7 separate regions of the Homo sapiens genome follow, and regions 1, 2, 3, 5, 6 and 7 are each linked to region 4. Evidence: promoter capture Hi-C in 16 types of primary human blood cells and fetal thymus (Javierre and others, 2016). All regions are on one chromosome and are shown on one strand. The core of a region is centred on a gene start or on the middle of the fragment in contact, and the rest is flanking DNA. Distances in the headings are between cores, read along the strand shown. Region 1 overlaps RERG (RAS like estrogen regulated growth inhibitor). Region 2 overlaps RERG (RAS like estrogen regulated growth inhibitor). Region 3 overlaps ATF7IP (activating transcription factor 7 interacting protein). Region 4 holds the start of WBP11 (WW domain binding protein 11). Region 5 overlaps ATF7IP (activating transcription factor 7 interacting protein). Region 6 overlaps ATF7IP (activating transcription factor 7 interacting protein). Region 7 overlaps RERG (RAS like estrogen regulated growth inhibitor).

What was found. Contacts are between HindIII fragments. The CHiCAGO score rates a contact against its expected background, and 5 or more counts as called.
Region 1: a fragment that was not itself captured here is called in contact with the fragment with the promoter of WBP11 in region 4 in 1 of 17 cell types (megakaryocytes); the score reaches 5.2 in megakaryocytes.
Region 2: a contact is called between a fragment that was not itself captured here and the fragment with the promoter of WBP11 in region 4, in 1 of 17 cell types (megakaryocytes). The highest score is 6.9, in megakaryocytes.
Region 3: a contact is called between a fragment that was not itself captured here and the fragment with the promoter of WBP11 in region 4, in 2 of 17 cell types (naive CD8 T cells and activated CD4 T cells). The highest score is 5.6, in naive CD8 T cells.
Region 5: a contact is called between a fragment that was not itself captured here and the fragment with the promoter of WBP11 in region 4, in 2 of 17 cell types (total CD8 T cells and naive CD8 T cells). The highest score is 7.5, in total CD8 T cells.
Region 6: a contact is called between a fragment that was not itself captured here and the fragment with the promoter of WBP11 in region 4, in 3 of 17 cell types (naive CD8 T cells, fetal thymus and neutrophils). The highest score is 6.3, in naive CD8 T cells.
Region 7: a fragment that was not itself captured here is called in contact with the fragment with the promoter of WBP11 in region 4 in 1 of 17 cell types (fetal thymus); the score reaches 5.7 in fetal thymus.

What each region holds. Positions count from the first base shown.
Region 1 is chr12:15,212,617-15,215,491 of GRCh38, forward strand. The region is part of intron 2 of RERG (RAS like estrogen regulated growth inhibitor); the gene reads right to left. Among named protein-coding and RNA genes, the nearest start is that of RERG, 7.4 kb to the right of the region's middle. The HindIII fragment of the contact is 2,345 bases long and covers 376-2,720 here.
Region 2 is chr12:15,122,101-15,124,887 of GRCh38, forward strand. The region is part of intron 2 of RERG (RAS like estrogen regulated growth inhibitor); the gene reads right to left. Among named protein-coding and RNA genes, the nearest start is that of RERG-IT1, 8.9 kb to the left of the region's middle. The HindIII fragment of the contact is 3,565 bases long and covers 1-2,787 here.
Region 3 is chr12:14,396,951-14,399,650 of GRCh38, forward strand. The region is part of intron 1 of ATF7IP (activating transcription factor 7 interacting protein); the gene reads left to right. Among named protein-coding and RNA genes, the nearest start is that of ATF7IP, 33 kb to the left of the region's middle. The HindIII fragment of the contact is 6,932 bases long and covers 1-2,700 here.
Region 4 is chr12:14,802,204-14,805,073 of GRCh38, forward strand. It overlaps WBP11 (WW domain binding protein 11), which reads right to left and starts at 1,275. Exons shown (of 12, transcript NM_016312.3): 1 at 1,149-1,275. C12orf60 (chromosome 12 open reading frame 60) reads left to right here and starts at 1,467. Exons shown (of 2, transcript NM_175874.4): 1 at 1,467-1,548. SMCO3 (single-pass membrane protein with coiled-coil domains 3) reads right to left here. Exons shown (of 2, transcript NM_001013698.2): 2 at 2,447-2,870. RefSeq lists an enhancer at 1,571-1,810. The HindIII fragment of the contact is 2,157 bases long and covers 801-2,870 here.
Region 5 is chr12:14,412,898-14,415,754 of GRCh38, forward strand. The region is part of intron 1 of ATF7IP (activating transcription factor 7 interacting protein); the gene reads left to right. Among named protein-coding and RNA genes, the nearest start is that of ATF7IP, 49 kb to the left of the region's middle. The HindIII fragment of the contact is 218 bases long and covers 1,242-1,459 here.
Region 6 is chr12:14,377,395-14,380,132 of GRCh38, forward strand. The region is part of intron 1 of ATF7IP (activating transcription factor 7 interacting protein); the gene reads left to right. Among named protein-coding and RNA genes, the nearest start is that of ATF7IP, 13 kb to the left of the region's middle. The HindIII fragment of the contact is 2,045 bases long and covers 381-2,425 here.
Region 7 is chr12:15,193,685-15,196,483 of GRCh38, forward strand. All of the region lies in intron 2 of RERG (RAS like estrogen regulated growth inhibitor), which reads right to left. Among named protein-coding and RNA genes, the nearest start is that of RERG, 26 kb to the right of the region's middle. The HindIII fragment of the contact is 1,024 bases long and covers 836-1,859 here.

The DNA.
Region 1 (2,875 bases), core at 298-2,797, 410 kb after region 4:
AGTCTGAGGAAGGGGAAAAATTGGTATATAGCTACTTAAATAGAGAAGAAGTTCTAAAACACAAAATGTAGTTCTATAGCATAAGAAAACTGACCTACCCAAGATGCGACTGAGGTTTCTGTTTTTTTATTATATATATGTGAGATCTCATAAATATATCTCAGCCTGAAGTATACATATATTTTAAAGCAGGTTTTGACGGTTATCTTAAAAGTCACATTTAAAATTAGAATAGTCCCTGTCCCACTTAAAAATAAGATGAAAAAAGCTTTTAAAAACTTCTTTATAATTGACAGAGAAAAAAGCAGACAAGAAAAAGAACAAAAAATAGGATGAAAAATCACTTCTCTTTGTGCCACGGAAAAAAATATCACAAGCTTGTTTGTGTTTGGCATCCAGTTTATAGCTTGGCAATCTGAGTCTATGAACTTAAGCCTTCATGGATGAGTGCACCAATTGGCTTTTGAATTACAGGATAGCATTACTCAATTAACTTTAAGACTAGCCCTTTCAAGCAATATAGTTAGCTGTGGCACACAATATTTCAGTTCTAAAATGAGAATGTCAACTGTGAAGCTAAATTTACAATTTCAGTTGTTTCTCTATCAGCCCCCTCCCACACTTACTACAAATCTGAATAATACGACTACAAGAAGCATTTAAATAAAAATGTGTGCATTCTAGGCTTATTGGCAAGTCTTATCACTTTAATTACTTGGAGCTTGTCAAAATATAGGCTGATGCACACAAGTAAGGAAATCTGTGCCTTGCATGCCACATTATTAGTGCTTCACCCTTAGCCAATGAAAGTAAATGTTTACCCGGCTGGGGCAAGAAAAGATAGAAAGGGCTGGGAAATCATGACCCTACACTTTGCAGCGTCCCCACAGAGTTCACTGTACTATCCCTATGCCAGCAAGCTCACTTGAAGACAGAACTGCAAGATAAACTTAGAAGGAACAAGAATTCCCCCAATACAGCAGACCATGTAAACACTTATATATTACACACATGTGCGTGCACATACACACATCCCTCACATGTTTTATCAGTGCTCCTTAGTAATCAGCACATTATTAAATTTTTGCCTTTGCTGACATGTCTGTGGTCAAACTGTCAATGAAAAAGTTCTGGTAAATGTTAAATTCTGTTTTAAATATAGACGGCCTATCTATCACCTGGGCTTAGGAAGCCATCTGCCACATACCAGAAGCACTTTCAAATTTAAAAGTGTTAATTTATTGGTGACACTAATATATTTCTGGCTTTTTACAAGATTAAATATAAGCCATACGAAGTATTGTTATGATCATCTGTGGTCAAGCTATAATTGACATTAACCAGATTTTAGGTTCAAGAAAGAGAAAAACAGAGAAAGTATGTGTGTGTGTGTGTGTGTGTGTGTGTGTGTGTGTGTGTGTGCGCGTGTGTGGAGTTTTTACCTTATAAGCTGTCTGACTTAGTGAAAACCAAAATACTCACTTGAATGCAAGTATATCTTTAATTGTATGTTTTCACTGTGGAACTTACAAATTAAAAAAGCATACCTTAACAAATTATAATAATATAAGCTAATTTTGAGCATTTGCAATGTGCCAGGAACACTTGCATGTAACAACTCATTCAATCCTAGTAACAACTGAGATGCTATTATATGTTCTTCATAGTTGAAGAAATCGACTGGTTAAGTAACTTGCCAAAGTTGCCAAGTTCACAGGGCAAACAAAAGCTCACACTCTTTAACTCCAAGCTATACGACTCCTCGTTAGCAAATGGGCAATATGGTCTTATTTACCCCCAATTCCTACTGGTATTAAGTGTGGGGAAAGTAGAGGGGACAGGTAAGACTTAAGCCTCTGAAACAATTCAGTGAGGAGCTACCGAATTACATTCCAGCAGGTATAATTTCTTGCAGACTTAAACAAGCAAAAGTTACCTATAAGACTGATAAAGTCTCTGCAGTAGAAAGATAAATGTGTGATACAATGATGAGGCAGAGACATCAAATAGCCATATTCACAAAGAATCAGAATCAACATAAATTCAATATTGTTGCAGTCTATTTTCAAAATTGTTGCATATGAGCCAGGTGTGGTAGGACACACTCGTAGTCCTAGTTACTGGGGAGATCAAGGTGGGAGGATCTCTTGAGCCCAGGAGTTGGTGGCTGCAGTGAGCTATGATCATGCCACTGCACTCCAGCCTGAGCGACAGAGGGAGACCCAGTGTCTTAAAATAAAATTGGTAGATATGAAGTAGTTTGTGGTCGTTTTCACTGAACTATGGAAAAAGGTTTCACAATTTTCACCCATGCATCAAACGAGTGCTACTTTTAAAATGTGAGGTGCAGTTACAGGTCTCAGAAAAATAATTTAATGTTGACATAGGAAAACACTGTCTGTTTATAGATGACAGACAAAAAGGCAATTGTTAAAGATATGTAGTCTGTCATTGTCATTTTCACCTAAATGAAAACAAACACAAATGGTGGAATGTATTCAAGGCAAATAGAGAAAACAGTCCAAAGAAGATTTGAATGTTAGAGTTGGAAAGAAACTTAGTGAGCAATTTCAACCTGTGCATTTTACATAAAATAAAATTCAGGTCAGCAGAATTTGATCTCTCTGTGCAGGTGTTATCTTCAGCTTTGGGTGTGAGTAGCACTTCTAGGGGCAGTGTATGGAGTAAGGACGCAAGAGGATGATATATAGAACCCTGGAAGCTTCAACTTTGAGAAGTGCGCAGACGAAGAGCAAACCCATGAAAACAGCTAGTTAGGAGCTACGGAGAGAGAGCAGCAAAGCCAAAGAGTGTGATGTCATGGGAGCCTGGGAAGGAAGGAATTTCAGGAAAGAATAAGCAGCTGTGTGATGAT
Region 2 (2,787 bases), core at 229-2,728, 320 kb after region 4:
AAAAAATATACATACACACATTTGGCATATAATTTAGCAGGCTCATGAGCCCTCCATAGACCCCTGATGGCCTCCCAGGGATCCCACTGACCTTAATGAAAGATTCATTGTCTATCATATTTTACAGTTTTAAAATACCCATTATAATGTGTATTTTTATTTTTACTGAAATGCCCTGAATGTAGCAGCCAAAGGATACTCCTTGAAGAAATAAAACTAGTTAGTGGAAGGTCACTGTCAGTCTTTGCCTAGTCTCACTTTTAGGAAAAACAGAGGTATAACCTTCCTCCTGTACAGTTTTATATGGGAGATGGCAGTGTAAATTGCATGAGGACTTCGCAAAACAGAGCACAACGTGGCTTCTTGACCAGGGGCCGGAGATGGAAACTACCAATGTTCTTTGTAATTACAGAGTGTGAGGCTGAATTCGAGCCAAAATATTTGCAGTGCCTAAAGTAGCAAGGCCACTGACCCTGTAATACTTCCCACAGTGACTGTACTTGTGGTTTTATCTGCAGTCTTCAGAGTCTGTCATTGTCATTCTCTTGAGACTGAAACTTTTATTTTTACATACAGGAAGCAGTAAGCAGTAAACATATTTTTTCTTTTGTACAATTAGCAACATTAATAAACACCTAACAGCTTGCACGATTTAAAGAGTTCCATCTTTTGTTAGACTACGTAGTTGTTTTTTTTTTTGTTTTTTGTTTTCGTTTTTTTGACACTCTCCCTCTGTTGCCCAGGCTGGAGTGCAGTGGTATGATCTCGGCTCACTGCAATCTCCACCTTTCGGGTTCAAGCAATTCTCCTGCCACAGCCTCCCGAGTAGCTGGGATTGCAGGCGCGTGCCACCACACCAAGCTAATTTTTGTATTTTTAGTAGAGACGGGATTTCACCATGTTGGCCAGGGTGGTCTCAATCTCCTGACCTCGTGATCTGCCCACCTCGGCCTCCCAAAGTGCTGGAATTACAGGCGTGAGCCACCGCGCCCGGCCAGACTATGTAGTTTTAACACTAAAGGCTGCAACCTAGAAAACTTAATTATCTGCCATGATGAAAAAATGAGCTTAATTTTTTACATGAGCGAAGTTTACAGTTCTTCAATTCCAAAACCATTTAAATTTGAATCATTTCTCAAAATATTTAAAAAATGTATTAGACAGTCCATCAGCTTTCAAAACCAAGTATACTGAACATAATTGAATCATTTGTAAATGCCTGGATGTCAGTTAAGAACCTTGGTTAGTGCCTGTGCAGTTATGCAGCAATACTTTCTGAAGCTGTAGAGTGGAAGAGGCAAAAGAACTCTAGAGTGCTAGAGTTTTTGAGCATATATATGTGTATGAATGCTCAAAAACTCAAAAAAGTTATATATATTATTATATAAATATATATATATTCAAAACAGTTGTTTAATGTATTAAATTTAAATAATAAATATATATTCAAAATAGTTAATTTATTAAATTTAAATAATAAAATTTTATCCCAGTTGTATAATTTATTAAATTTATATAATAAATATTAAAACTTATTAATTTTTAAGTTTATTACATTATTAATACATTAATAATCTAATTTAACTATAATTAATGAAAATGGGTACTATAAAGATTGACCTAATTTCCTTTTGACTCCCTTCCCTCTCCATCCCAACTATCTTGAGCAAAGTTTGTCTTTTGAAGTAAAATGGTGGTATTGATTTAAGGCCTTGTTGCTCCAGAAGTTTTAAGGTTTGACATATTTGATTAGTAGTTACTGTTGAGTCTCTGCCTTCTGAAATATTTTATTTTCTTCCCATTGCCTGAACAACCCCTGCCTTTCCATTAAACAAGCCAAACATGTCCAATGGCTAATGTAGGGAAGACTGTTTTCCTCCTTTTGCCTAATTTACAACCTACTTGGCTAATTCTTCATCATCTGTGGTTCTGTTTTAGTATTACTGGTAGTATGAATTTTATGATTATTAATGAAAATTGGTTTCTAACAAAATGGAAAATTTGGTAAAGAAACATTTAATCCAATAAAATATTTTTAAAAGTCACTTAATGTAATCATTCAGTGGCATGATATTCCATTCATAAGTAAGAGCTAAAAGGTAAAACCACTACATTAAAATAGTCACGTTATTTCTAAAAATTAACCAATCTATGCTGGTTACTCAAAATAATTCCTGACATCATTATCAAGAAGAAGCAGGCATCAGGAGTGCCAGATTTAGTTTCAGAATAATATTTTAAAATGAAAATTAATTAGGTATGATCTGTACAATAAATCAGCTTCAGCAAGAAATGAACTCTTCAAGGTAAATGTAAACTAACACACATGCTATTCCTTATTTAAGAGTCATATTCAAGAGAGATTCAGGCAAAACTTTCAAATGCTACCTTTCAGTATCATACTTGAAAAATATGTCATTACTTTTCTTTATAGAATTCATGAAGTAACTTGATTAACAATGTATATAATGCAATTTTTTTCTAAGATACTTAAGCATATGTAACCTCCTACACAGTTGTGATTGTTCTTTTCTATAGGTCCCCAGGCATACAGCTATTGCTATATAACAAATCCGCTCCAAAACTTTGTAGCATACAACAATAAGTATTTATTATGGAAAAATGCTGGAAATTTTTTTTCCAGCTGGAAAAAGTATTATGTATTTATGGGACTGTGGTGAGTTGATTGCATTGGAAAAATGTAACTAAAAGTGTTTAAAATGGCCAGGACAGATTTTTTTTTGGTTAGGAAAAGAATTTCTGCTCCAATTAAAAGTGCTTCAAGGA
Region 3 (2,700 bases), core at 46-2,545, 410 kb before region 4:
AGGAGTTCGAGACCAGCCTGACTAACATGGTGAAACCCCGTTTCTACTAAAAATACAAAAAATTAGCCAGATGTGGTGGCGCACGCCTGTCATTCCAGCTACTTGGGAGGCTGAGGCAGGAGAATTGCTTGAATCCGGGAGGCGGAGGTTGCAGTAAGCCAAGATCGCACCATTGCACTCCAGCTTGGGCAACAAGAGCGAAACTCCGTCTCTAAAAAAGAAAACCAAAAACAAACAAAAAAACAAAACACCAAAAAAACAATGAGGATAAAGGTATATAGTCTTTGAGGCTATTGAAGTTGAGTGTGAATGATCCAAAATTTGGAGTATAAAAATCTTTGAGTTCCTAAAAAGTGTTTGTGTTCCTTTTAAGAAAGAAAATGTATTTAGCAAGCAATGTAGAATCTCAAAATCTTCAAAATGAAATGAACCTAAGTGGTCAGGTAGTTTCTAATATTGCACTTTGCACAGGAACCTACTGTTTGATATTCCTGACAGATAATTATCTAGTTTATACTTCACTATTTCTAATGACAGAAGGGAGAGTCTCTATTTTCATAAATCAGTTTCTTCTTTTATTGGGCATCCAAACAAATTAACATTTGTTGATTTTGAGATGAAGTTGCCTTTCATTACTTTTATTTTTGCTTCTCATAGCCCCCCACTTTCTGTCTGTCTGTAGCTCTCTTTCTCTTGTATCTCTTTTACATGACAAATATGTACTATTTAAAGAAAGCTCATTAAAATTTTCTTATGTTTTCTAGGCTAAATATCAATATCTTTTATTTTTTCCTGACATTTCCTCATACAACTTACTGTTCCAGAGCATTCTTTAGCATGGTCATCCCACAGTTATTAATAAGTCCTTCTTTATCTGTGATGCTCAGAACCAAACATAATTACTCTAAAAATTTTCCCCTTCTCCTTGGCTATTTGTTCTACAGTTTAACTTTGCATTAGCATTTTTGGCAGCCACCTTGAGATGATTTTTTGAGTTTGCATTAAGTTAAAATACCTCAGTCTTTCCCTAATATTCATTGATAAACTTTAACATACTTTAATATTTGAAACAATTGTTACGTTATTATGTTTTCTTAATAATTTCTCATGTTGTTCGTTATATTTACTATGCTTTGTGTCTGTCTTCCTTGCAAGGTTTTTTTCTGTTTTAATAGTGTTTTTAAAGAACTGGCTTTTGGTTCCTTAATTGCTTGCTCATTTGTTTTCTTTCATAATTTTCTGCTTTTATTGTAATTCCATGCTTTGGGATTATACCTTTTTGCCTTTATTAATGTTTTTGAGTTTGTGTTTTTTGTTAATATATGCATTTAAGGCTATCAGTTTTAATCTGAATATCATTTTAGCTGATTTCCCTAGGTTGTATTCTTTTAATACTTCGTTGGTATTTTATCACTGATTTCCTCCTACATCTAAAAGTTTTTTTTTTTATTTATAAGGAGATAATTTTTCTGTCATCTTGTTGGTATATTTATTACATTATGACTACAGAATATAGCCTTGTGGTTTTTTTTTTTTGTCTTTGAGTTTGTTAAGATTTTCTTGTCGCCATACACATGGTCAATATTGATGTACATTGGCTGTATTTGTGAAAAAAATTATATTTTGGGTTTATTGGGTATACAGTTCTATTTATTTTTGTTATTCTGACATGCTAATGGGTTGTTCATTGCTTATTACTTTTGTGTTCTTCATCCATAGATTTATTTCTGATTGTGAATTTATTAGTTTTTTCCTGAATTATTTAAACTTGTTTTATCAATAGGACATATCTCTTTTTTTTGTTCTATTACTTGATTTTCAACTTGAATTCTTTTTTATATGTCATATATAGGTTTTATATGTATACCTACCCTTTTTTGTGGTACTATTTGCCTAGCGTATCATTTTCTATCCTTCTGTTTCAACCTTTCTATGCTGTTACTCTAAGGTATGTCTCGTTTATAGTGCATAGCTAATGATATTTTTGTTGTTTTACACGCTTGAAACCCATCAGGTTTTTCCCTGATTGATAATTTTCTTTATTTTTGCCCCATATTCTGCAACCTGTTAGTTAACTTACACATTGCAATTATCTGGATAAATAACATATTTATTTTAAAGATGATTGATCCTCAGTTATTTCAGCCTGCTCAAGAGTTTTACTTGTTTTTTGGAGCTTTGCTAATTTCCTTATCTGAATTTCTTCATAGGTTCTTCTGCTGTCTGGTCTTGTACTTATATTTATATATAATCATTTTAGCAAAGGTCTGCATTCTCTGTCTTTGCTCAGAAGTAATATATTTATTTCCTCACTCTTGCTGACTGCTAGCTTTGCTAGCTGTAGAATTCCACAGTGAAAATAACTTTTCCCATGAATTTTGAGGATATTGTTTTTTTTTTAGCTTTCAGTATTGCTGATGACAAGTCTGATGCCAGTTTAATTCTTTCTCTTCTGTAGTTAAATGATATTCTAAGTTATTAATATTTCCCTATAATGATTTTCTGAAATCTTATTGCAGTATGCCTAGGTGTCAAAAAATTTTATTTTGCTTATTTTAATTTAGTTTGTTTTGGGATTCAATAGACCTTTATTATTGGAAAACTTGTATATTTTTTCAGCTTTGCTGATTTTTTTTAATTTTCTTATTTTTTCCCTCCTTTTTTTCTTGTTTCTTTTTTTTTAGAAACTTGACTTAATTG
Region 4 (2,870 bases), core at 25-2,524:
TTATTAACACAGTACCCTATTACATGACTTCTTCCTCTTATTCCAAAATAATGGGGCTTAATTTTTTGAAGCGCAGTCTTTCCAGTAATAAAGGCGGACAAATTTGCTTCCTTTTGCAAGTAGACACTTTTTAAAGGTAAGAAAGGGAAGATTTTGTCAGCCCAGTTTATTACAGTTAATGTCTCTTTCACCAAGTGTCCAACTGCCCCGAAAGCCAGATGTTTCAGAAAGCCAGATGTTTCACAGCTGTTCTGGTGGCAATTACTTCAAGACAGCGGTATCAAAGGCTCTGATTTTTAGCTTCCTCATCTAAAAAATGGGGACATCAATTACTTTATAACAAAGCTCTGATGATACAATGAGATTACAAATAAAATATCCTGTGATGTTTGACTCACTACTTAACTAAAATCTTTATAATGGATCCATATTCCTGGCCTAGCTACCATACACCCTGTCAAGTGGTTTCCTTCTAAGAAAAACTGGGGATGGGGGGGTTAGGGGGGTGGGAGAGCAGCAGGGAGTAGGAGGTAGGGAAGGAGGAAAACAAGCAAAATCAGTACATATACAAGCTCTCCCATCTTTGATTGCCTGCGTTTTTTGTGCTTTCCTTTCTCAAGTTTCCTCAGGCTCATGTTCTGAATCTCCTCCCCCACAAATGAAACACAACGGATACGAATTACAGAGAATTTTACGGAAGACACTGGAGCTTAAGTCTGCAGATTAGTTTTTTGTCTACAAGCGGAGGCGACTGGAAAATCAAGCCAAATAAGCGTTGGATAACTCTAAACAGCCAAAGAAGCTTCAATGGGATAGGGTCCAGGTTCACCAAAGGAGGCAACACCAGCAACTGACGAAACCATAGCGACGGCTGACCGACCATGACTCGAGGTACAAGACGTCAAACCTAAGGCTACTAATCAACGTGCGTAAGAAGCGGCCCCAACCGACCCGGGCGATGCCAACCGCGCAACCACTGGTCGCCGCGCCACCCCAGGCCCAGGAATAGCCCAGTCCGCAACAGGGAGACCTCAACCAGGGAGAGGAGGAGCGGGGCAAAGGGGCTGGGTGTCCCCCAAGCCGCTGCGCGGGACGTGGAAGGGACGAAAGAGGTGAGGAAGAGTAGTAAATCAATTCAATACACTCACACTTCTGCTGTGCTCCCAGGACTACGAGAAGCGGGTAGGGGGCGACTCCCGGCCTCTTTCACTTCGTAAAGGCCTTCAACTGGGTCTCTCGGTCAACCCCTCAGCTACCGCCATCTTGAAACCTCGCGCCCCTCCGCACTCCTCACGTCATTTCCCATTCCTCTGTCCCGCCTTCTCTTAGCGCCGCTTGACCCTGGAACCATAGAGAATACCCAAGAATTCCAGGACCAGAGTCTCTTCCGGTTCCATACAATACTCAATTGGTTGGTTGTCGGCTAAGAGCCCGCCTCATTGCGCTCATCTAGTACAATAGGAATTAGAAGAAGATAGCTGCTAACTGAGTGGCTGACGGTCCTGTCTCTCGAGTTGGAGGCATCTTGACTTAGTTGCTGGGAGCCTGGTACGTTGAGCCGTCCGAGAACGGTACATTCTGCAGATAAAGAAGCGTTCTGCGTTTTCTGTCTTTTGGAATTACCTTAGTTTTTGCATTTTTCTGTTTCTTATGACCCAAGCAGGTGCGATCCTTTAGGGGTGTCTCCGTGTGTAAACGAATACCCAGATAACATTTGCCACTGAGTTTAATCCGCTTTGTAAGCATCAGGTTATCCCATGTGAGCGCCTAGTACGTGTGGAAATTTAATAGACAGGCAGAACAGAACGTTTGTAGACCACCTGAACAAATAAATTAGCACCCGTATTAGAGTCGCAGATTGCTTATATGGGCGGTGATTTATTATTTGTTAGTAGTGTTTTGAAGAAGAAATACGGGGATACATATGCAGTCGGTTTTAAGTTATATGAGTGGCAAGGTTGATATATATTGGCTATATTCCCGACTGGTCTTTTCACCAGCCAAAAGTCCTCTATGATGTCACTCTACGTACGGGATTCTTCACTTAACTCTAGCCTTCGCCCTTTCCCTACCTTCTATCCCCTCTTTCCGTGAGTCAGCCCCCACTTATTTCCCTTAAAGGTAAGTTTAAACATTTAAAAAACTATCTTAGAGGATACGCTTGGTTATTTCTAATCTTAACCTGACTATCCCATGTAGGAAGGCTATTCTTACCACCAGTTATAAATATTTCAAAATATTGATGGAGATACATACTAATTTTTAGCAGAATCTTTAAACTGCCCTTGAAGGTATAAGATCGGTCCTATACCTAAACTTACCTTTGTGTTAGGAAATTCTTGATTTGATTTTAGACTGAATTTGAGTGTCAGAAAGCAATGACGAGATATTGTAGGTTAAAGCTGATAAACCAGGTAGTACATAAAAAAGAAAATAATCTTGAACTGCGAAGGTGAGCTAAGTTGTAATGTTTTGCAACTAGTTTTTTTTCTTTCCTAACACATTAGTGATCATAGTTTTGCAACTCGTTTTGAAAAACAATGCAAGAAGAGAAAGAGAAAACAGTGTATGTTGGAAATATTAAAGTCTTTCATGTAGCTAAAATTTTATATGTAGCTACTATTTTTAAGATATGCTGAGCAGTTTTTATTTCAATACATTTCTTGTACTTGGATGGGAGAATCAACTATAACAAACACAGTCTGGCATCAACAGCATATTAATAATTTTGTCAGTATAGACTAAAAGAGTCCTCATGGGAATTATTGGTTGGCAAAGGATTTAGAAAACAAACACATCTGCAGAGATTCAGCGGAACCATTAATAGGCTTCCATAGCCTTTGGCGTTTTCTAAAATCAGGTAATTAGTG
Region 5 (2,857 bases), core at 101-2,600, 390 kb before region 4:
TAGCTACTCAGGAGGCTGAGGCATGAGAATCACTTGAACCCAGGAGGCGGAGGCTACAGTGATCTGAGATTGTGCCAGTGCACTGCAGCCTGGGTGACAGAGAGGGACCATGTCTCAAAAAACAAACAAAAAGTTGTTTGACTTTTATTTCATTTTCTTGCCTAATTCTCCTGGCTAGAACTTCTAGTTCAATGCTGACTAGAAATGGTGAGGGCAGATATCTTTTGTTCTGATCTTAGGGTGAAAGATTTCAGTCTTTGACCATTAAGTATGATAGCTGTGGGTTTTTCCTTGGTGCCCTTTATCAGGTTGAGGAAATCCTCTTCTATTCTTAGTTGGTTGAGTGAATTCTGCTCTTAATTGCTATGTTAAATTAAGGATGAGATAATTTAATACTTAGAAAGCTGCTGGTAATACTCTTGTAGCTAATACATGAAGCAGTCAGCAGGCTGGTGAAATTGGGGAGGGAGTCTACTCTCAGGTCTCATTTACTGAGTAGATAGGTATTACCAGTGATCTTAAATGGCATCTCCATTTTCAAAGAGATAAAGAAGACAATTGCTGAACATTCTATTAAAATGGTACCAAAACTTAAATGATGAAATGCATAAGAAGGGTTCCTGTGCTGAAGAAAACAACTTGGTACTGAATTGGGTGTCTGCTTTACCTTACCAAGTTAAAATTACTATTTGTGTAATTATTGATAGTAATATAATTATTGATTTATTAATTCACATCATATGTAAAGTTGAAATTAATATAAATTATCACATAAACTAATGAGAAAAGGATATGTTTTGTTATAGTGACTCACATATATTATTCCTCGATAAGCATCAGTTTCTTTTTCTCCTTTCAAGGTGTGTAATAAAAGGGTTTTTTTTCAAGGTGTTAATAAAAGGCAGAATTTATAAGGCATGGTTGGGAATAATAAACATCAAATTCAAGATTATGCTTATCTTTGCATTTAGGAGTCAAGAATGGAGAAGAAGGAGTAAGCTGTTGTGTTGTACAGGGCACTTTATTTTTATTTCATAATAAAAAATTATATGTGTCAGTATAGCTAAAACTTGAGCTAGAATGGAACTTAGCAAGCATCTGCCCTAACTTCTTCAGTTTTACAGTTGAGGAAACTGAACTCCAGAGAGTTAAATTGATTTATTCTATGGTGGTTGTATACTAATGTTAGAACATGGAATAGAACCTAGTTTTGTTAGTTCAGAAGTCTTTTTGTTATGCCAAGCTTTTTAGAATATGTGTATTTTAAAGTGTGATAGTTTGCATGATATTTTATAATTATACTTCTTTACAGCAAGAGGATTATATGTCCCTACCTTTTGCCATGTGACATGAGGTGTTTCCCCTTGGGAGGTTTTTTACTTCCCATGCCCTTAGTGACTTAATTTGGTTTTAGCCAATGGAATGTGAATGAAAGTAATGTACACCATGTCTAAGCAAAAGCTTTAAAATAAGCTTGTCCTGCCGAGGGCCCACAGGCTGCATAGAGCCCAGGGCTGTTTTGAATGTAGCCAAACACAAATTTGTAAACTTTCTTAAAACATTATGAAATTTTGTTTTTCAGCTCATCTGCTATCGTTAACGTATTTTATGTGTGACCCAAGACAGTTCTTTCATTGTGGCCTAGAGAAGCCAAAAGTTTGGACACCCTAGCTAAAAGCTATTGTATACTGTATATCTCTGTCATATTGGTCTTTTACCTCTGCCACAAGGCCTAGATGGGGTGAGGGGGTGCTGTTCCTTCAGCCTGGTGTCCTAGAATAATGAAAAAGTATACAGTTATTAGCCAGTGAAATTTTATTGTTGTTGCTGCATTATCATCTAGTAAAAGGTGACTGACACAGAAAGTTAGCTGTCCAGCTTTTCTCTTTAGGTTGGGTTAATAAGAAAAGTAAGAGTTATTTCCAGGCATTTGAAGGATTTACATCTTTCAGCTCCTCATACCTCATTCTGGGTGTTTTACTTCACCCAAGCAAAATGTGAAAAGTACGTTTGGACAAATGATTTCTACTGCTGGTTATTTATTTATTTTTTTAATGAGACCTGGTCTTGCTGTGCTGCCCAGGTTGGTCTCTACCCTTTAGGCTCAAGCAGTCCACTGCCTCAGCCTCCCAAGTAGCTGAGATTACAAGTATGTGCCACTGCGCCCAGCTCTGGACAAATGATTTCTTAAATGCCTGTGGAGATAAATACAAGACCTTCTGTAACTTCACTCCTTATCTGCATAGGGATAGTAGAGTTTGGCAAGCTAGTGAGTAGGGCCTTGATGGAAAATTGGCCAATTTTCTAAGGGGGTGTAATTTGCTCTATGTATTCTAAAATGGCATTTGTTGGATCAGGTCATTTAATTTTATTTTGCCCATGTAACACAATGATCCCAAAAATTGACTTGGAGAAGTAATTTTAAGGTATCTTATGTTTTTATCATGTGGACCATTCCAAAATTTCTGAAAACATAGCACTGAATGCAACAAGAAGTTAGATTGTAGTGACAGTTCTGGCTTTGATGTAACCAAACTTTTAAGGACATGATTTACTCCTGCCTTGTCTGGGGAATTGTTGGTAACCTTGTCTAGGGAATTGTTGGTAAAGCAAACTCCCAGTTTCCTTTGTGGTTGGTTATTTTTTACAATTTAGTTTGGGGATATTGCATTCCACATTTTGGTCGGTGACAGGCAGAGGGGTTAATTTGTGAAAGTGTCAAATATTATGATCACTTGATAACTTACTCAACTGAGTTTATGAGTATTTGATAAACAGATTTCACCACTTACTGTTTTTTTTTTTTTTTAAGATGGCAGGATAGCTAGTGACAGTTATTTTATACCAGTTAAGAGAA
Region 6 (2,738 bases), core at 153-2,652, 420 kb before region 4:
GCCCAGGCTGGAATGCAGTGGCAAGATCTCTGCTCATTGCAAGCTCCGCCTCCCAGGTTCACGCCATTCTCCTGCCTCAGCCTCCCGAGTAGCTGGGACTACAGGCACCAGCCACCATGCCCGGCTAATTGTTTGTATTTTTAGTAGAGACGGGGTTTCACTGTGTTAGCCAGGATGGTCTCGATCTCCTGACCTCGTGAGCCACCGCGCCCGGCCTTTCTTTCTTTCTTTTTTTTTTTGACAGAGTCTCGCTCTGTCACCCACGTTGGAGTGCAATGGCGTGATCTCGGCTCACTCCAGTCTCTGCCTTCTGAGTTCAAGTGATTCTCCTGCCTCAGCCTCCTGAGTAGCTGGGATTACAGGCACCCACCACCACACCAAGCTTATTTTTCTATTTTTAGTAGAGACAGGGTTTCACCATGTTGGTCAGGCTGGTCTCGAGCTCCTGACCTCAAGAGGATCACCTCAGGTGATCCACCTGCCTCAGCCTCCCAAAGTGCTGGGATTACAGGCATAAGCCACCGTGCCTGGTCTGACTTACCCAATTTTATCCTGGTAGGCAGGAGAACAGATTCTTATGGAAACTGTGTAAACTGAGTCATAAAAAGTAAAAAGATTGAGTTATGATACTTTATACAGTATTTAATCATTGGTCTAAGCAGTTTCTGGACAAGACTGAACAATATATTCAGTATTTTTCTTTTTCTTTTTTTTTTTTTTTGAAATGGAATCTTGCTCTGTCGCCCAGGCTGGAGTGCGGTGGCATGATCTTGGCTCACTGCAACCTCTGCCTTCAGGGTTCAAGCGATTCTCCTGCATCAGCCTTCCGAGTGGCTGGTATTACAGGCACATGCCACCACGCCCAGCTAATTTTTGTATTTTAAGTAGAGATGGAGTTTTGCCATGTTGGCCAGGCTGGTCTCCAACTCCCGACCTCAGGTGATCTGCCTGCCTCGGCCTCCCAAAGTGCTGGGATTACAGGCGTGAGTCACCATGCCCGGCCCTATATTCAGTATTTTTCTACAGAATCATTCATAAAATGTTTTTGGTGGCTTCTTTAGCTTATAACCTATATTAAAACCTTTCACAGGATATTTTTCTCCCTGATCTCTGAGGGGGAAAGATATTACTATTTCTATAAAGTATACCTTAAGTTGGGGGTTAGAGATAGATTGAGATGAAAGTATTGTTCTCTTATGACCATTTAAAATAAAATGTTAACCACAATTAAATCATTCATTTAGTCTTAGGTAATTCTTCTTTTTTTGATCTTGTGTTAAGCAGCCTACTTACACAGAATTGACTGGTTTGTACAACATAATCATGAAAATCATGACCCATTCCCTTGATACAGTTATGACAGTTGTTGACTCATGATGTCAACTTTATACCAGGATGCCTGCATCCATGAGTCTCTTCCATGTAAATAGCAATAGTTAAGACGATTTGGTACAGTTACTAATAATCTTTGATATTTATTTAAAAGACTTAATTTATAAGACACAATTCCTCAGGTATGGTGGCAGCAAAAATCTTGACTCACATTTAGTTCTTGAGTGTCATTGCTCCTGTGTGGCTTAGTTGCTCACTATATCTCGTACACAACTGTCATCCTTAGAATTTTGTACACCATTGATATAGTTTGGATTTGTATCCCCACCCAAATCTAATGTTAAATCATAATCCTCTATGTTGGAGGTGGGGCCTCGTGGGAGATAATTGGGTCATGGGCTGGATTTTTCATGAATTGTTTAGCACCATCCCCCTTGGTACTGTCCTCCACAATAGTGAGTGAGTTCTTGTGAGATCTGGTCATTTAAATAGTGTGTAGCACCTCTCACCTTTCTCTTGTTCTTGCCTCTGCCATGTGATGTGCATGCTCCCCCTTTGCCTTCCATCATGTTTGTAAATTTCCTGAGCCCCCACCCCAAGAACCCGAGCAGATACACTGTACTTCCTGTACAGCCAGCAGAATTGTGAGCCAATTAAACTTCTTAATAAATTACCCATTTTCAAATATTTCTTTATAGCAATGCAAGAATGAACTAATACAACCATCAGTGAAGATTTCCTTCACCTGTCTTCTAGGACCCTTGTTTTCCAAATGCTATGTCTTTTTATTGATTTATTCTGTCCTTGGCAGGAGAATTCTTAGAATTCTCCCTGCCTGTAGAAAGCTACACATTCTCTAGTAGCTTTTTGAGAAAGGGTGCATGGGAGATACAGGTTTTAAAGACAATGCATGTTTGAAAAAGGTCATTCTATGTTTTCATGCTTGATTGATAGTTTGGCTGGGTATAGAACTCTAGGTTGAAATTCTTTTCCTTCAGAATTTTAAAGACACTGCTCCATTATCTTCTTCCTACTATTATCACCACTGAGAAATCTGAAGCCATTCTGATTTCAGATTTCTCCTCTCAGTGGAAGCTTGTAGAATTGGTTATTAGTCTTTAGTCTTATGGAATTTCAATGGAACCTGCCCTTGTGTGGATCTGTTTATTATGGTCTGCTGGCATGCTTTGGGCTCTTTGGTCTGGAAATTCTTGCCCTTCAACTCTGGAAAGTTTTCTTAAATGATTTCATTGGTGATGTATTTGTGTGTGTGTGTGTGATTCCAATTTGAATATTTGGATGGATACTCCAATTGTATCTTTTCTTCTGATTTGTAATTTTGTCTTTTTGCTAAGGTTGGTTTCTTCAACTTTATCATCCAGTCCTATTGAGTTTTTCATTTTTTT
Region 7 (2,799 bases), core at 98-2,597, 390 kb after region 4:
CCATATAATATAGGAACAAGAGTGCTGTACTTAGAGCTGGAAGATATTCCTGATCATCTGGTATTTTCACTCTGGGTCTGGTTTGGATGGAAAAATATTGTAAGTAAGAGAAAGTACAAGTATAATTGCAAATGAGAGAAATCTGCCTTAGAACGCTTTGGCTATCATTTCCCCTGGATGTGTTATTTCCTAAGTTTCAGTGGTAGGTAAACGATTCAGGTTATTATTAATCCTATAGAAAGGAGCAAATTGGTGAAAAGAGGCTTGCTTCTTTTTATTCTTACTTTCCCATCCCTCCCTCCAAAAGGATTTGAATGTGAGATTTCACATTGACAGCAGGAAAAAAAAGTAAGTACCTTTACAAGAACAATCAAAACAATGACTCATGAACTCTGTGCAAGAATTTAAGATTATTTCCCTGTTTTGAGAACCTTCAGGGGATTGTGCTAAATCATATGCTGACAGGTGAAAAGGAGAGAGTGCGCAGCTGGGGGACATCTATGTTTGCATGAAAAACTTTTGCAGGGTTCAGGCTGCGCTCTAAATAACAAACACTGGTTTCCTTCAACAGCACATTCCAGGCCTTGCTGTTAGGGAGCAAAGGCAAGACATATTTAAGTATAATCGTGAATGATCATTCAGAAGTCACTGAATGGCCTCTTGAAACACTCTTTTCCTATTCTCTCACATATTGTCTGCTACTCCTCGGTTCTCAAAATATATACACTCTCCCCTCAGAACATGTGCTTTTGAAAATCAGTTTTATTAGACTGAATGTTTTTAACTTAAAAAACAAAGAAGAGGAAGAAGGAGCCCGATCTCCCTAAAAAAAAAAAGCTTGGTGTTCAATGAAATCTCTATTATGAATGCCACACTCTTCCTGCCATTCCATCATCTCAGATTCATACACTGTATATAGAGCCTTGGTGTTGCTTAAAATCTTGGAGCCCATCTCTTCCAAGAATGCTTAACATGATGTTCAGCGTTCAGATGCCAAGAAAGGAGTTCTATTTTGCTTTATTGGTTAACAACAGCAGGATCTCTTGCTGTGTCCATTTTTCACCCTCTGGTTGCTGCAGGATGTTGGGCTGAATGTGTCTGACCACTGAGAACTTAATGAAATTCACAGAGGAAATCTTACACGGGGCAATGGGTTCTCTAGGTGCAATTTCCACAACCACGTCAATATCCACTATCTCTATAAGACCAATTTCCAGGCTGCCAGATGGCACATGGTAACTGATGCCAAGGATTCAGTCCTTTATAGCCATCAAAAATTGATAGTTTTTTTCCATTTGTTTTGTTTTCTAAATGTCTATATACATTACCTTCCAGCAAACACTTTGTGGAAAGGTTTAATCTACTACCCAGAAAGCTAGAGAGCTTGTCAAATTAATGCTTGCAAAGTGGCTTGAATAAAGCCCTTCTGAACATCATTATAGTCATGGCTAATGAATAAATAACTGCTGACATGGGAAGATTCTAGATAGCCCACGAGATATGATGGCAGAGTTGAGGAGATTTCCAAAATGCCTCCAGGAATACTGCCTTGGGTAAGGTCCAAAACGACTGGGATGAGCCCAAGCTGTCACAAATGGAATGACATACAAACCCTATAAGACCATCCTGCCTCCCCTTTCCACCTCTCACACAAGTGGCACTGCTCAGAATGCCAAGGGTGCCTGATTAGGGAACGAAGAGTTGGAGCAACAGAGAGGCCATTGTTAATCTTTGCTTTCTTGCCCACTCATTTTCCTCTTGCTAAGTAGGTGGCCTTCACCCTATTCCACAAAAGATTATGTATTCCAGTTCCATAACTTCCCATGGAAAATTTCCACTTAACTTCTTAAGGCACAGCAAGCTTGGCTGTGTGTGTGTGTGTGTGTGTGTGTGTGTGTGTGTGTGTGTGTGTGTGTGCATGTGTGTGTTGTATTCTGTTGGTTTAGTTAATTACCCAAATCCATTCAGCATCTATTCGTCTCAAATTGAACTGCGGTCAAAGGATGGGAGGAAATCAGTAACTGCTGCCATATGGCACCAAACTGAGACATGCAGATACCTAGAAGTTGCATCACTAATAATAATTACATTGCTAATATGCCACCCACCTTCCTGGAAGGCTCACAGCTTTGGTTCTCATCCTGCTCCCTATTAATATCTCCAATTCATGACTTAAATCAAATGCATGAATAACTTAAGGTGAAAAGCCACTCCACCAGCTGCTTTTGTGTGTCTTGGGAAAGTTTTTCAAGCCATATGGACAAACATACGTGGAAGGGACATAGGTGTCCAGCATAATGCTCAATGGTTTGCATATGTGCCCCATCCAAAACAATACCCCAAAGCTAGGTGTGGGAACTTTGACTGCCTAAAGAGTATGATTCAATGACTTCTCTCCCTCTTTCAGGCCATTTAAAATCTGAGAAAGGCATTTCTATTCCTCTTCAAGTTTCCATGGGTAAGCTCTGCCTGGTCAACAATTTGTTGAACTGGATTCATGTTAAGTCAAATGAGAAAGCAGTCAGGTAATATCTATAGATACGTAGGAGTGAGCACATTGCCCATCCCTGTTTAACAGTATGGATGCAGCTCTATGGAAAAGGAAAGAAAAATCATTTCACTTTACCATCTCTTCTGACTGAAGAAATGACTGTGGCTTCAGCTTCCTGAACTGAGATAATTAACACTGTCAGCTTATTACAAGGCTGGCATAAACATGCTGGAAATTGACACCTTGTCTTAATCATTCTTTTCCCCTGAGGAAGTATTTCTCAAACAGATGCAACCTCAAGCTAGGGC